2 separate regions of the Homo sapiens genome follow, and region 1 is linked to region 2. The links are contacts of gene promoters, found by promoter capture Hi-C in human tissues and cell types (Jung and others, 2019). All regions are on one chromosome and are shown on one strand. Each heading gives the region's core, a stretch centred on a gene start or on the middle of the fragment in contact. The rest is flanking DNA. Distances are from core to core; before and after follow the strand shown.

Region 1 (5,908 bases), core at 2,447-4,946, 33 kb before region 2:
TCACTTAGTTCCAGTGAATATCAGCTCATGCCTGATCATGTCTCATCCACACCCGTGTGCTCATACCCCCTCCTTTATTATTTTGAAGCAGTCCCCAGATATAAGATGTCAAATCCATGGTTATTTCAGTACCTCTAAAACGACTTCTAAAAAATCATAACTGGCCGGGTGCAGTGGCTCACGCCTGTAATTCCAGCACTTTGGGGGGCCGAGGTGGGTGGATCACCTGAGGTCACGAGTTCGAGACCAGCCTGGCCAACATGATGAAACCCGATCTCTACTAAATATAGAAAAAAATTAGTTGGGTGTGGTGGCGGGCCCCTGTAATACCAGCTACTTGGGAGGCCTGAGGCAGGAGAATCACTTGAACCCAGGAGGCGGAGGTTGCAGTGAGCTGAGATTGCGCCACTGCACTCCAGCCTGGGCAACGAGTGAATCTCCCGTCTCAAAAAAAAAAAAAAATCATAACCGCATTGCTGTTTGTTTTTTTTTTTTTCATTTTTCAATCTAGTCAAAACTGTTGAATTTGTCCTTTTTATTCGTTTTTATTCTGTGCTTTCAAAAGAAGGGTTTTTCTCAAAGGCTAATTCAAGAAGGAGCAGAGAAGCAGAGACTGAGGGATAGTCTCAACATGTTCAGTGTGTGGCGGGCGGGCCTGGCGCAGTTGCCGGCACACAGGGAGAGGCCTCAGCTTCACCTGCCTTTTTCTCTCACAGGTTTATTCAGTCACCATGAAGCTGCTGCTGCTGCACCCGGCCTTCCAGAGCTGCCTCCTGCTGACCCTGCTTGGCTTATGGAGAACCACCCCTGAGGCTCACGCTTCATCCCTGGGTGCACCAGCTATCAGCGCTGCCTCCTTCCTGCAGGATCTAATACATCGGTATGGCGAGGGTGACAGCCTCACTCTGCAGCAGCTGAAGGCCCTACTCAACCACCTGGATGTGGGAGTGGGCCGGGGTAATGTCACCCAGCACGTGCAAGGACACAGGAACCTCTCCACGGTAAGGCTCCCCTGTGAGCCAGCAGCTCTGCTCAGCCCCGTCTCTGGCCTCTCAGGGTTCCCTGTCTAGTTGGGCCCAGGGCAGCCTGGCAGCTTGGCAGAGGTAGGATGAGGCAGACAAGTCTCGATGATAGAGTGGACAGGCTGATTCTTTCTCTCTCATTGTCTGAATCAGCAAATTCTGAGTCTTCTGCAGCACCTTCTGACCCCCTGCATAGGTGTTCTGAAGCCCTTAACAAAAGGCAGCCTGGGGCTGGGCACAGTGGCTCACGCCTGTAATCCCAGCACTTTGGGAGGCCAAGGCGGGTGGATTATCTGAGGTCAGGGGTTCGAGATCAGCCTGGCCAACATGGTGAAACCCCAACTCTACTAGAAATACAAGAATTAGCCAGGCATGGTGGCGGATGCCTGTGATCCCAGCCACTTGGGAGGCTGAGGCAAGAGAATCGCTTGAACCCAGGAGGTGGAGGTTGCAGTGAGCCAAGATCGAGCCATTGCACTCCAGCCTGGGCAACAGAGCGAGAATCTGTCTCAAAACAAAACAAAATAAAAGGCAGCCTGGAAGTGGGGTTCTCAGCCCCCCAGAATCTTCCTCAGCGCCGCACTTGAGTCACTCAGAAATACTGAGAAAACACGGCTCCCAGGACGGTATTTCTCATAGAGTTTACCATTGACAGAGTCCATTACACACTATCCCGGGTGAGCCCACAGTCCCTCAAGGTGCAGGTGAGATTATCTGCATTTTATAGGAGAGGACACCGAGGGTCCCGCAGTGAGTCCCTGCAGAGACCAGGGCTGGAACGCCAGGTCTTTGGATTCTGTGTTCTTTCTTCCATATCATCTCTGCTAATCAGACTCTGGGGCTATTTGTGGCAGCCAAATATAAGTCAGCCAGCAAAATCTTTATATATCGACTTTGTTCCCTGTGCTGGTGTTGTGAGAAATAGAGAAAAATGAGTCATATTTAGGGAGTTGACTGTCACGATGGGGAGTTCAACCAACAGAGGACAAAGTCAGCAGGCACTGAAATGAAGCATTGCATTTTGTGGGTTGGACAGTAATTGTAGGATGCAGAAATGAGAGGGGGAGATGAGTGTGCTGCAGTCATCAGGGAAGGCTCGAGCGTGGGGTGTCCTCCAGCTGCCCCTTGAAAGATGAGTGCAGTGTGGAGATAAAATGGACGGGGGTGCTGGGCACTGTGGCTCACGCCTGTAATCCCAGCACTTTGGGAGGCCTAGGCAGGCAGATCACTTGAGATCAGGAGTTTGAGACTAGCCTGGCCAACACAGTGAAACCCCATCTCTACTAAAAATACAAAAATTAGCTCGGTGTGGTGGTGGGTGCCTCTAATCCCAGCTACTCCGGAGGCTGAGGTGAGAGAATCACTTGAACCCAGGAGGTGGAGGCCTCAAAAGTTGGGGGGGAGGAGCGGGGCCGGGCGCGGTGGCTGACGCCTGTAACCCCAGCACTTTGGGAGGCTGAGGCAGGTGGATCACGAGGTCAGGAGATCGAGACCATCCTGGCTAACACGGTGAAACTCCGTCTCTGCTAAAAATACAAAAATTATCTGGGTATGGCGGGAGATACCTGTAGTCCCAGCTACTTGGGAGGCTGAGGCAGGAGAATTGCTTGAGCCCAGGAGGCAGAGGTCGCAGTGAGCGGAGATTATGCCACTGCATTCCAGCCTGGCGACAGAGCGAGACTCCATCTCAAAAAATAAAAATTAAAAAAAGGGACGGGGGAACCACGTGGCTTGGATGCGAACACCTGAGCACATCAGATGCTGAGCCAGAGACAAGCACGCCCCCGTGCCCCCGCGGGGTAATGCAGCTGCGTGAGCCTCAGGACCCGCCAGGATAGCAGCAGCATCTCGGGGTGGCGGGAGTCCAGCCCCCAGCCTTAGAAGCGCAGGCACTTATTTTGGGAGCACACCAAGAGGGCTGACTCTCAGAGATAAGCCCATGTGAGACCGAACTCAGAAAAGGCCTGGCATGTAGGTGTAGACAGTATAATTAGAAGTGGAGCTGCAGATTTCACAGGAACGGTTCGTGAGAAGCGCTTACCTGCTGCCTCCCAAGGTGACTGTGTGTGGTGGCTGCTGGCCGGCCATGGCCCACTTCCCTGAATCTTCAGGTTTTCCTCCCCTAACCTCTGTGAACACATATGTCTTTCAGGCTGAGGGCAGTCCTATGGTTGAGGATGTGTGGGGCTGATCGGGCAGCACCACAGTTTTGGCAGAGCCCCGCCCTTAGACATTTCAGCTTCAGAGAAGTAGCTGGAACCCGCATTTTAACATAATAGCTCCCTGGGCTATTGTGATGTGCAGCCAGATTTGGTACGAAGCTTGTATCTTCAGGCACACACACAGAATGGTGTTTTCTTTCTCTTTTGTTTTGTGGGGGATGGAGTCTCGTTCTGTTGCCCAGGCTGGAGTGCAGTGGCGCGATCTCGGCTCGCTGCAACCTCCACCTCCTGGGTTCAGGTGATTCTCCTGCCTCAGCCTCCCGAGTAGCTGGGATTACAGGCGTGAGCTACCACGCCCGGCTAATTTTTGTATTTTTAGTAGAGATGGGGCTTCAACATGTTGGCCAGGCTGGTTTTGAACTCCTGACCTCAAGTGATCTGCCCATCTGAGTCTCCCAAAGTGCTGGGATTACAGGCGAGAGCCACCGCACCTGGCCCCAGAATGGTGTTTTCTAGAAACTATACCCTAGTGACAATATTTTGCTTTTTTTTTTTTTTTAAGAGACAGGGTGTTGCTCTGTCACCCAGGCTGGAGTGCAGTGGTGTGATCATAGCTCCTTCACTGTAGCCTCCAACTCCTGGGCTCTAGCAGTCCCCCTGCCTCAGCCTCCTCAGTAGTTGAGAGTACAGGTATGTGCCGCCACACCTCACTAATTTTTCAACTTTTTGTAAAGAAGGGGTCTCATGTTGCCCAGGCTGGTCTCCAATTTCTGTCCTCAAGTGATCCGCCTGCCTTGGCCTTCCAAAGTGCTGGGATTACAGTGTTAGCCACCGTGCCCTGCCACTTTGGTGACAATGATTGGAATCTTGTCATTCCCAAAGTTTCTCAGGCACTCATTTACCGACGGTTGTGCTTATGATGTGTAACTTTCCTGGCTGGCTGAGCCATAAGGATTAGTTACTAGTTTTTTAAGTTTAGGGAATACCTTGCCCTCATCCCTAGACTAGATGAATCTACAAATTCCCTGAAATTTGGACATTTCTGTCTTCTCTTTTTCCTCTGGGAAGGCTGAGTAGGTTGCTGTTTAGCAGGGCAAGGCCTGACCTTTGGGGTCTAAGCGGCTTCCTGCCCTTCCTGTGTTTCAGTGCTTTAGTTCTGGAGACCTCTTCACTGCCCACAATTTCAGCGAGCAGTCGCGGATTGGGAGCAGCGAGCTCCAGGAGTTCTGCCCCACCATCCTCCAGCAGCTGGATTCCCGGGCCTGCACCTCGGAGAACCAGGAAAACGAGGAGAATGAGCAGACGGAGGAGGGGCGGCCAAGCGCTGTTGAAGGTGAGCCAGGCCAGGAAGGCAGGAGCCCATCTCCCATCTCGCCCGCGTCTCACAAGGACCCCTGGGCTGAGCTGCTGCTGCTCCTCACTGAATGCCTCACCAGTGATGACCAGGATGAGGTTGTCGGTGTCAGGAGCGGGAGCGATGATTGGATGGATAATTTTTGTATTTTGCAAGGATGGCCTAGCACATTGTCAGACTCCTGGGCCGTAGCTGGCGAATGTTCAGAGCGTTGGACTTCTTGAGCGGCCTATGGATCCCTTTTTGGTCTGCTTTTTGTTTCATGTTGAACCACGGGGGCCCAACCCTTTGGCTTTTTTAATCTTTTTTTTTTTTTTTTCTGAGATAGGATGTCGCTCTGTCTCCGAGGCTGGAGTCCAGTGGTGCAATCATAGCTCACTGCAGCCTTGACCTTTTGGCCTGAAGTGACCCTCCTGCCTCAGCCTCCTGAGTAGCTGGGACTACAGGCGTGCACCGCCATGCCCAGCTAATTTTTAAATTTTTTGTAGAGACACGGTCTCACTATGTTACCCAGGCTGGTCTCAAACTCCTGGGCTCAAGTGATCCTCCTGCCTCGGCCTCCCAAAGTGCTGGGATCACAGGCATGAGCCACCATACCTGGCCTACTTTGGTTTTATAGTTTTTCCTTTAAGACCTCCCGGAGGCTGCACTTGGCCCCTGAATCCTTCTTCCCCTCCCTATCCCGGTATCCCTGATCCAGCCACAGTGGGCTTGCCACGAGCTGTGAGTGTACACCCTGATAGCCCTAAGCCCCATAGGGCCGGCGTGTGCTGCCTGAGTGTCGGCACCCGGAATATACTGTCTGTGTTACTGCAAGTCCCTGTTTTCTGCTGTCGTTATTTACTTGTATGGCTTTTTTTGTTTTTTTTGTTTGTTTGTTTTGAGACAGACTTTCGCTCTTGTTGCCCAGGCTGAAGTGCGGTGGTGCAATCTCGGCTCACTGCAACCTCCGCCTCCTGGGTTCAAGCGATTCTCCTGCCTCAGCCTCCTGAGTAGCTGGGATTTCAGGCACGCGCCACCACGCCCAGCTAATTTTTTGTATTTAGTAGAGATGGGGTTTCACCATGTTAGTCAGGCCGGTCTCGAACTCCTGACCTCAGGTGATCCACCTTCCTCAGCCTCCCAAAGTGCTGGGATTATAGGCTTGCGCCACCGCACCTGGCCTACTTGTATGGTTTTTAGGCTTCCATTGCTGTTTGCATCCGTCTCTCCATGGAAAAGGTGTTTCTCTTGGATAGCAATTTTGATAGTTTCCCTAGGCTTCTCCGCAGCATCTGGTGAGAGATGGACTCAGCAAATGTTTACTGATGGGTTGGTGGATCTCAGTCTGCCCCATCACACCTGAATTCAGAACAGGGCCGCCCCAGGCA
Region 2 (5,860 bases), core at 2,676-5,175:
TGGGGCCATCTCATAACATCCAAATAAAATGAACCTCATTTAATGTGTTCCTATAGTTCAGTCTGTTCTCACAGCAAGCTCTGGAGCCTGAGTTGTACCACAAAGATATTCTTACCTTGAGGCAAACTTAGTCTGACCTGGAGGCCCTGATAGCCATTGCCCCTAGGACTGGGGGAGGGATGGTCATAACTCCTTAGGGGAAGGGGCGCCCATTCAACCTAAGGCAATTCTCTGGAGAAGGGGCAGCAATGAACTGTCAGCCACCAGCCCTCAAGAAACAGGCAGAGTACGGTAGCTCATGCCTATAATCCCAGTACTTTGAGAGGCCGATGCAGGAGGATCACTTGAGCCCAGCAGTTCAAGGCTTCAGTGAGCTATGATGGCACCACTTCACTCCAGCCTGGGCAACAGAGCAAGACCTCATCTCTCTCTTAGAACAAAAACAAAAACAAAAACAAAAACAGCAGCAACCAGAAGATGGTTATCCCTCATGGTGAAGGGGATCTGGGCAGGGCATCCCCGCCTCTGCTACAGGGAGGGCCTATTAATATTATCATCCCCATATTACAAAAGAGGAAAGCAAGGCCTGAGAAGTGAAGGAACTTACCCATGCCCACAGCTGGAAGTGATGGTATCAAGGTCTGTTGGGTGTCACTGGCTGTTGCTGGAAGACTAAGCAGCTATTGAAACAGAGGACCAGCAAGGAACTTGGAGAAAGGCAGAGCTACTGAGTGAATCTCCTTAGAAAGGGGTGGGGAAGGCCGAGGCGGGCAGATCACGAGGTCAGGAAATCGAGACCACCCTGGCCAACATGGTGAAACCCCATCTCTACTAAAAATACTAAAAATACAAAAAAATTAGCTGGGTGTGGTGGCATGCGACTGTAGTCCCAGCTACTTGGGAGGCTGAGGAAGGAGAATCACTTGAACCCAGGAGGTGGAGTTTGCAGTGAGCTGAGATCACGCCACTGCTCTCCAGCCTGGTGACAGAGCGAGACTCCGTCTCAAAAAAAAAAAAAAAAAAAAGTGGGGGTGGGGACACGAAGGGACAGGGCTGCAAGTTGCTCACAATTACTTTGCTAAAGCCAAGCTACAGAATGACATCTGGATTCTGTAAATTCATGTATACCATGCTTGAGGACTCATGCCGCATATTCCACGTGGTGCTATAGAAAAAGTTCGTGGTGCTATAGAAAAAGTTCAGGTACTGCACGTCTCTTGACGATGATGGTGTTCACTAAGCCTCCTACCAGCTCTGTGACTTTGGGCAAGTTTCTTCACATCTCTGTGCCTCAGTTTCCTTATCTGTAAAATGGGGATAATCATATAAATGGGGTTGGTGTGAGGATTGAACGAGTTAGTATTTGTGGGGTTTTTTGGTTTTGTGTTTGAGATAGATGGAGTCTGTCTCTGTGCCCAGGCTGGAATGCGGTGGCACCATCTTGGCTCTCTGCAACCTCCGCCTCCCGGGTTCGAGCGATTCTCCTGCCTCAGCGTCCCGAGTAGCTGGGACTACAGGCGTCCACCACCACGCCCAGCTAATTTTTGTATTTTTAGCAGAGATGAGTTTTTGCCACGTTGGCCAGGCTGGTCTCAAACTCGTGACCTCAGGTGATTCGCCCACCTCAGCCTTCCAAAGTGCTGGGATTACAGGCATTAGCCACTGTGCCCGGCCTGCAACGTTTTCTTTTTCTTTTTTTCTTTTTGGAGACAGTCTCGCTCTGTCACCCAGGCTGGAGTGCCGGGGCGTAATCTTGGCTCACTGGAACCTCCGCCTCCCGGATTCAAGCGATTCTCCTCCCTCAGCCTCTCGAGTAGCTGGGATTACAGGCATGTGCCACCACGCTAGGCTAATTTTTGTATTTTTAGTAGAGACGGGGTTTCACCACGTTGGCCAGGCTGTTTTCAAACCCCTGACTTCAGGTGATCCGCCTGCCTTGGCCTCCCAAAGTGCTGGGATTACAGGCGTGAGCCACCTTGCCCGGCCCGCAATGTTTTTTCTTTCTTTCCTTCTTTCTTTCTTTATTTTATTTTTTTTTTGAGACGGAGTCTCGCTCTATTGCCCAGGCTGGAGTGGTGCAGTGGCGCGATCTCGGCTCACTGCAAGCTCCGCCTCCCGGGTTCACGCCATTCTCCTGCCTTAGTCTTCCAAGTAGCTAGGACTACAGGCGCCTGCCACCACGCCCGGCTAATTTTTTGTATTTTTAGTAGAGACGGGGTTGCACCGTGTTAGCCAGGATGGCCTCGATCTCCTGACCTCGTGATCCACCCACCTCGGCCTCCCAAAGTGCTGGGATTACAGGCGTGAGCCACCCCACCCGGTCTTTTTTTTTTTCTTTTTTGCCGGCCCGCAATGTTTTCTTAAACTTTTTATTTTTAGCTATCCTGTTGAGGTTCTTCCAGATGAATTTTAGCCTCTGACCCAGGGGTATGATTTGATAGGCGTGGAGTTCTGGTTACTTCTTAAATGAAGAGTTTCCCCAGGATATCTGAACAATTCTCTTGGGTGGAAGACTCAAGGATCATGAAAACGAAAACCAAATTCTAGTCGGCTCCTAAAGTCCTTTTGCCTCCTGCGGTTACCATCAAAGAGCTATGGTCAAAATTCCAAGGGATAATTCAGGGTCTGATTCCACTATATATCCCCAGACCGCCTATACATAAATCCATATTATTGGAGATTTACGCTTAATCCTATAATCTTTTACCTAACAGCTGTCCAGTAGAATTTTCTGGATGTCCAATAAGGTAGCCGCGTGTAGCTCTTGAACACTTGAAATGTGGCTAGTCCCCTAGAGGAACGGGATTAATTTAAATTTACATAGCTACAACTACTTATCGGTCACTGCGGTAATTGTTAAGACTGGTTTTGCCTGTAACTTGCATATGTTTTATTGGACATCAGTTTCAATATTTCATTTGCATTGCTAAAAGTCAAAATCCTTTTGACTTTGCCAGTTACTCAGTGAGAGGACAGTTGGAGCCAGTTTCTGTTCTAGGCTTACAGTTTTAAGGACAGATAAAGGTTAGTTTTTAACCTCGAGATGAACAGACTGTTAAGTTTCTACGGACTTGCCCATGGGGTTCCACAGTGAGCCTGGGCCGGGGAGGCAGGTACTGTGTCAGGGGGAAGAAAAAAGGGGCTTCTAGCTGGGCAGGTGACACACAGGGCATAGGAAGAGGTCAGTTCTTGTGGCCGAGGAGGTCCGGCCCGGGGGTCCCAGGAGCAGAGATCTCCCTTCTCTTCGATGTGGAAAGTGAGGAGGGAGCAGAGCCTTGCTCAGAAACGGAGCTCCCCCAATCCCCCACCGCCCTAGCTACTGGACTGGAACTAGGATGGACACGAATGTCCTTCTCATTGTACTAACTGCACTCAACAAGCGGGAAAGATGAAGCGAGGGGGTTTAAATGTGTGCGTTTGTTGAATGACCCACAAAAACTGAAGGAGCGCGGCCGGACTGATCACACTCCTTGAGACAAAGCGGGTGGGAGACCCAGAGGTGAGGAGGGTGGTCGCCTGTGGGCGAGGACTGGGAGGCCAGGGGTTCTCGGCGAGGCGGTCCCAGGAGGCGGCGCGGAGCCGCTGCGAGGCCGCAGGGCCGGGTCGCAAGATGGCCGGGCCGGCCTCCCGCGCGGGTCGCGCGGGCCACGCGGGCGGGTTTCAGATGTTCCGGGCCCGGGTAGGGGCTGGCAGGAGAGAAGGGGCCGGCTGCGGGGAGGGCTGGCTGAGAAGAAGCGAAAATGGGCGGTTAGCAGCAGGGACCCGGAGCCGGAGGAGCCGAGAGCAGCGCGTGCGCCGAGCTCTACTGCCTCGCGGGAAGGCGGAAGGGTGGGGAGGGCGGCGCTCGGGGCGGGAGGCCCGGCCGGGTCCGCTAGGACAGCGGGGCCGCTGGGAAGTTGTGAGAGCGGCGCTCGGGGGCGCGCTTGCGTGCACGAGGGCCCGGGCCGCGAGCAGCCGCGGCCGTCCCGGTCGCCACCCTTAGCAGCGGTCGCGGTCGGTGCCGAAGCGGTGTTCCCCGCCTTAGCCGCTGGCGCCTCCCAAGAGAGCGGCCGGTGGGCCCTCGTCCTGTCAGTGGCGTCGGAGGCCGGCGCTGCGGTGGCCGCGCCCTTCTGGTGCTCGGACACCGCTGAGGAGCCGGGGCCGGGCACGGCTGGCTGACGGCTCCGGGCAGCTAAGGCTGCCCGAGGAGAAGGCGGCGGCCGCGGCGTAGGCGCACGTCCGGCGGGCTCCTGGAGCCTGGAGGAGGCCGAGGGGACCATGTCCGGGAGGCGCTTCCACCTCTCCACCACCGACCGCGTCATCAAAGGTGCCTGGCGGGCCGGGCCTTCCTCTGGGACCCGCGGGAAACGGCCTTCGGCTGGGCGGCGGCTCGGGGCGGAGGGAGGCTGGGGCCGGGCTGCGCCCACCCTAGGAGGGCTCGGAGGGGTGTAGACAGAGCCGGGCGGCAGCCTCCGAGAGCAGCCACCCGGACCCGGCGTTTTCTGCTGCACCTGGTCAGGTGCCTGGCCGTCAGTGCCAAGTTCCCTCCCGAAGGGTTCAGGGTGCAGTGGGGACTTCTTCTCCCACCGCCCCGAAGGGCCCGGATCCCTGTCTTTTTTTCTCTTTAAGAAACGACTCGGGGGAAGCCATCGGGGGTGGTGTGAGCAGGGAGTCGACTCTTCCAAGTAAGATATTTAAGATTAGATCTTTCTTGACGTCCGCCCCCCACCCTTTTTTAGGACGTATACCATGTGCCTTTTGACCCGCTTTCTCTAGATCATTGCAAGTCACTGCTATTACTGGAATAAACTTAGTATGAACAAGTCAGATAAATCCATTATATGATGTTTAAAATAAGTTTACGGAGCTCTTGACAGGGTAATGGTATTTTATTTTCCCTTTGGTTATAAAGACTTGGAGAATGACGTTTTCTGATTCATATGTGTACCTGCGTTAGATTTCTGTTGTTGTTATAAGAACAAAATGTAAAGGGCTCTTTGCTCTCTAAATCTTGTAGAGTTTTAGGTTATAGTTGTTTCTCCCTTTAAACTAAGAAGATGGATTACACATAACCACTAATTTATGTGCTGCTTTTATTCAGCCGTAAGTCTTAGGCACAACCCTTCTCTCTGAGATTAACAATCGGTTTGAAAGCGCTATTTTGTAAGAAGGGAATAGACTTAGACCAGCTGTGTTAGTGGCCTCTGGATGCAGGGGTTAGCGTGACAGTGGGGAAAATTATTAAGATACTTTTCTTCTTTTTCATTTTGGTATTAGAAGGAGAAAGGCAACTAATACTAGTGACGGGAATACATTTTTAAAAGGTGAAACGCCTTATTGCATGTTCAGGGAGGGGGAAGAATTTTAGTGTATAACTTAGGTTTCCCCCCTCTCTCCCCAAATCAGCCTCATAAATGTTAATTATCTGTACTACATAATTATAATGGGATTTTTGAGATTTATCTGCTTAGCATTTGTATGCTATCGTTAGAGGTTTAACTGAATTGTTCATCTAACTGACATTATCCCCTGAACAGCTAAATTATTGTGACCATTTAAATGTGTCTTCATATTATTAGTGTATAGCCTATAAGAAGTATATAGCCCTCTCTTAAGATTCAGAGTGTACTTAACATAACCTTTTTTGAGGAATCAAGGTCATTATGTACATTAATTTCTGTACTGTGCTGTTAATATGGCCGGTGCGTTCTGCTGTATAAAGTTGTTAGCAGTTTCGTCCTGTACTAAAATGACTTCGCAATGCTATACCAGTTCAGTGTTTTGTTTGCTTTTAGTTTCTCTCTCCAGTACTGTTTTCTGTCAAAATATGCCCTTAACTGCTTTCTAATCTGCTACGTCTTAGCTGAAGTAGGCAGGGAAA

The links. The method cuts DNA at HindIII sites, captures the fragments that hold promoters and counts their contacts. A contact is called where the count stands out against the background at its distance.
Region 1: a contact is called between a fragment that was not itself captured here and the fragment with the promoter of PPP3CC in region 2, in 1 of the 25 tissues and cell types used here (bladder).

Annotation. Positions count from the first base shown.
Region 1 is chr8:22,403,980-22,409,887 of GRCh38, forward strand. It overlaps SLC39A14 (solute carrier family 39 member 14), which reads left to right. Exons shown (of 9, transcript NM_001128431.4): 2 at 717-1,001; 3 at 4,331-4,517. The coding sequence starts at 732. Among named protein-coding and RNA genes, the nearest start is that of PPP3CC, 34 kb to the right of the region's middle. The HindIII fragment of the contact is 6,539 bases long and covers 428-5,908 here.
Region 2 is chr8:22,437,153-22,443,012 of GRCh38, forward strand. PPP3CC (protein phosphatase 3 catalytic subunit gamma) reads left to right here and starts at 3,926. Exons shown (of 14, transcript NM_005605.5): 1 at 3,926-4,306. The coding sequence starts at 4,258. RefSeq lists silencers at 3,509-3,698, 3,789-4,448. The HindIII fragment of the contact is 20,414 bases long and covers 1-5,860 here.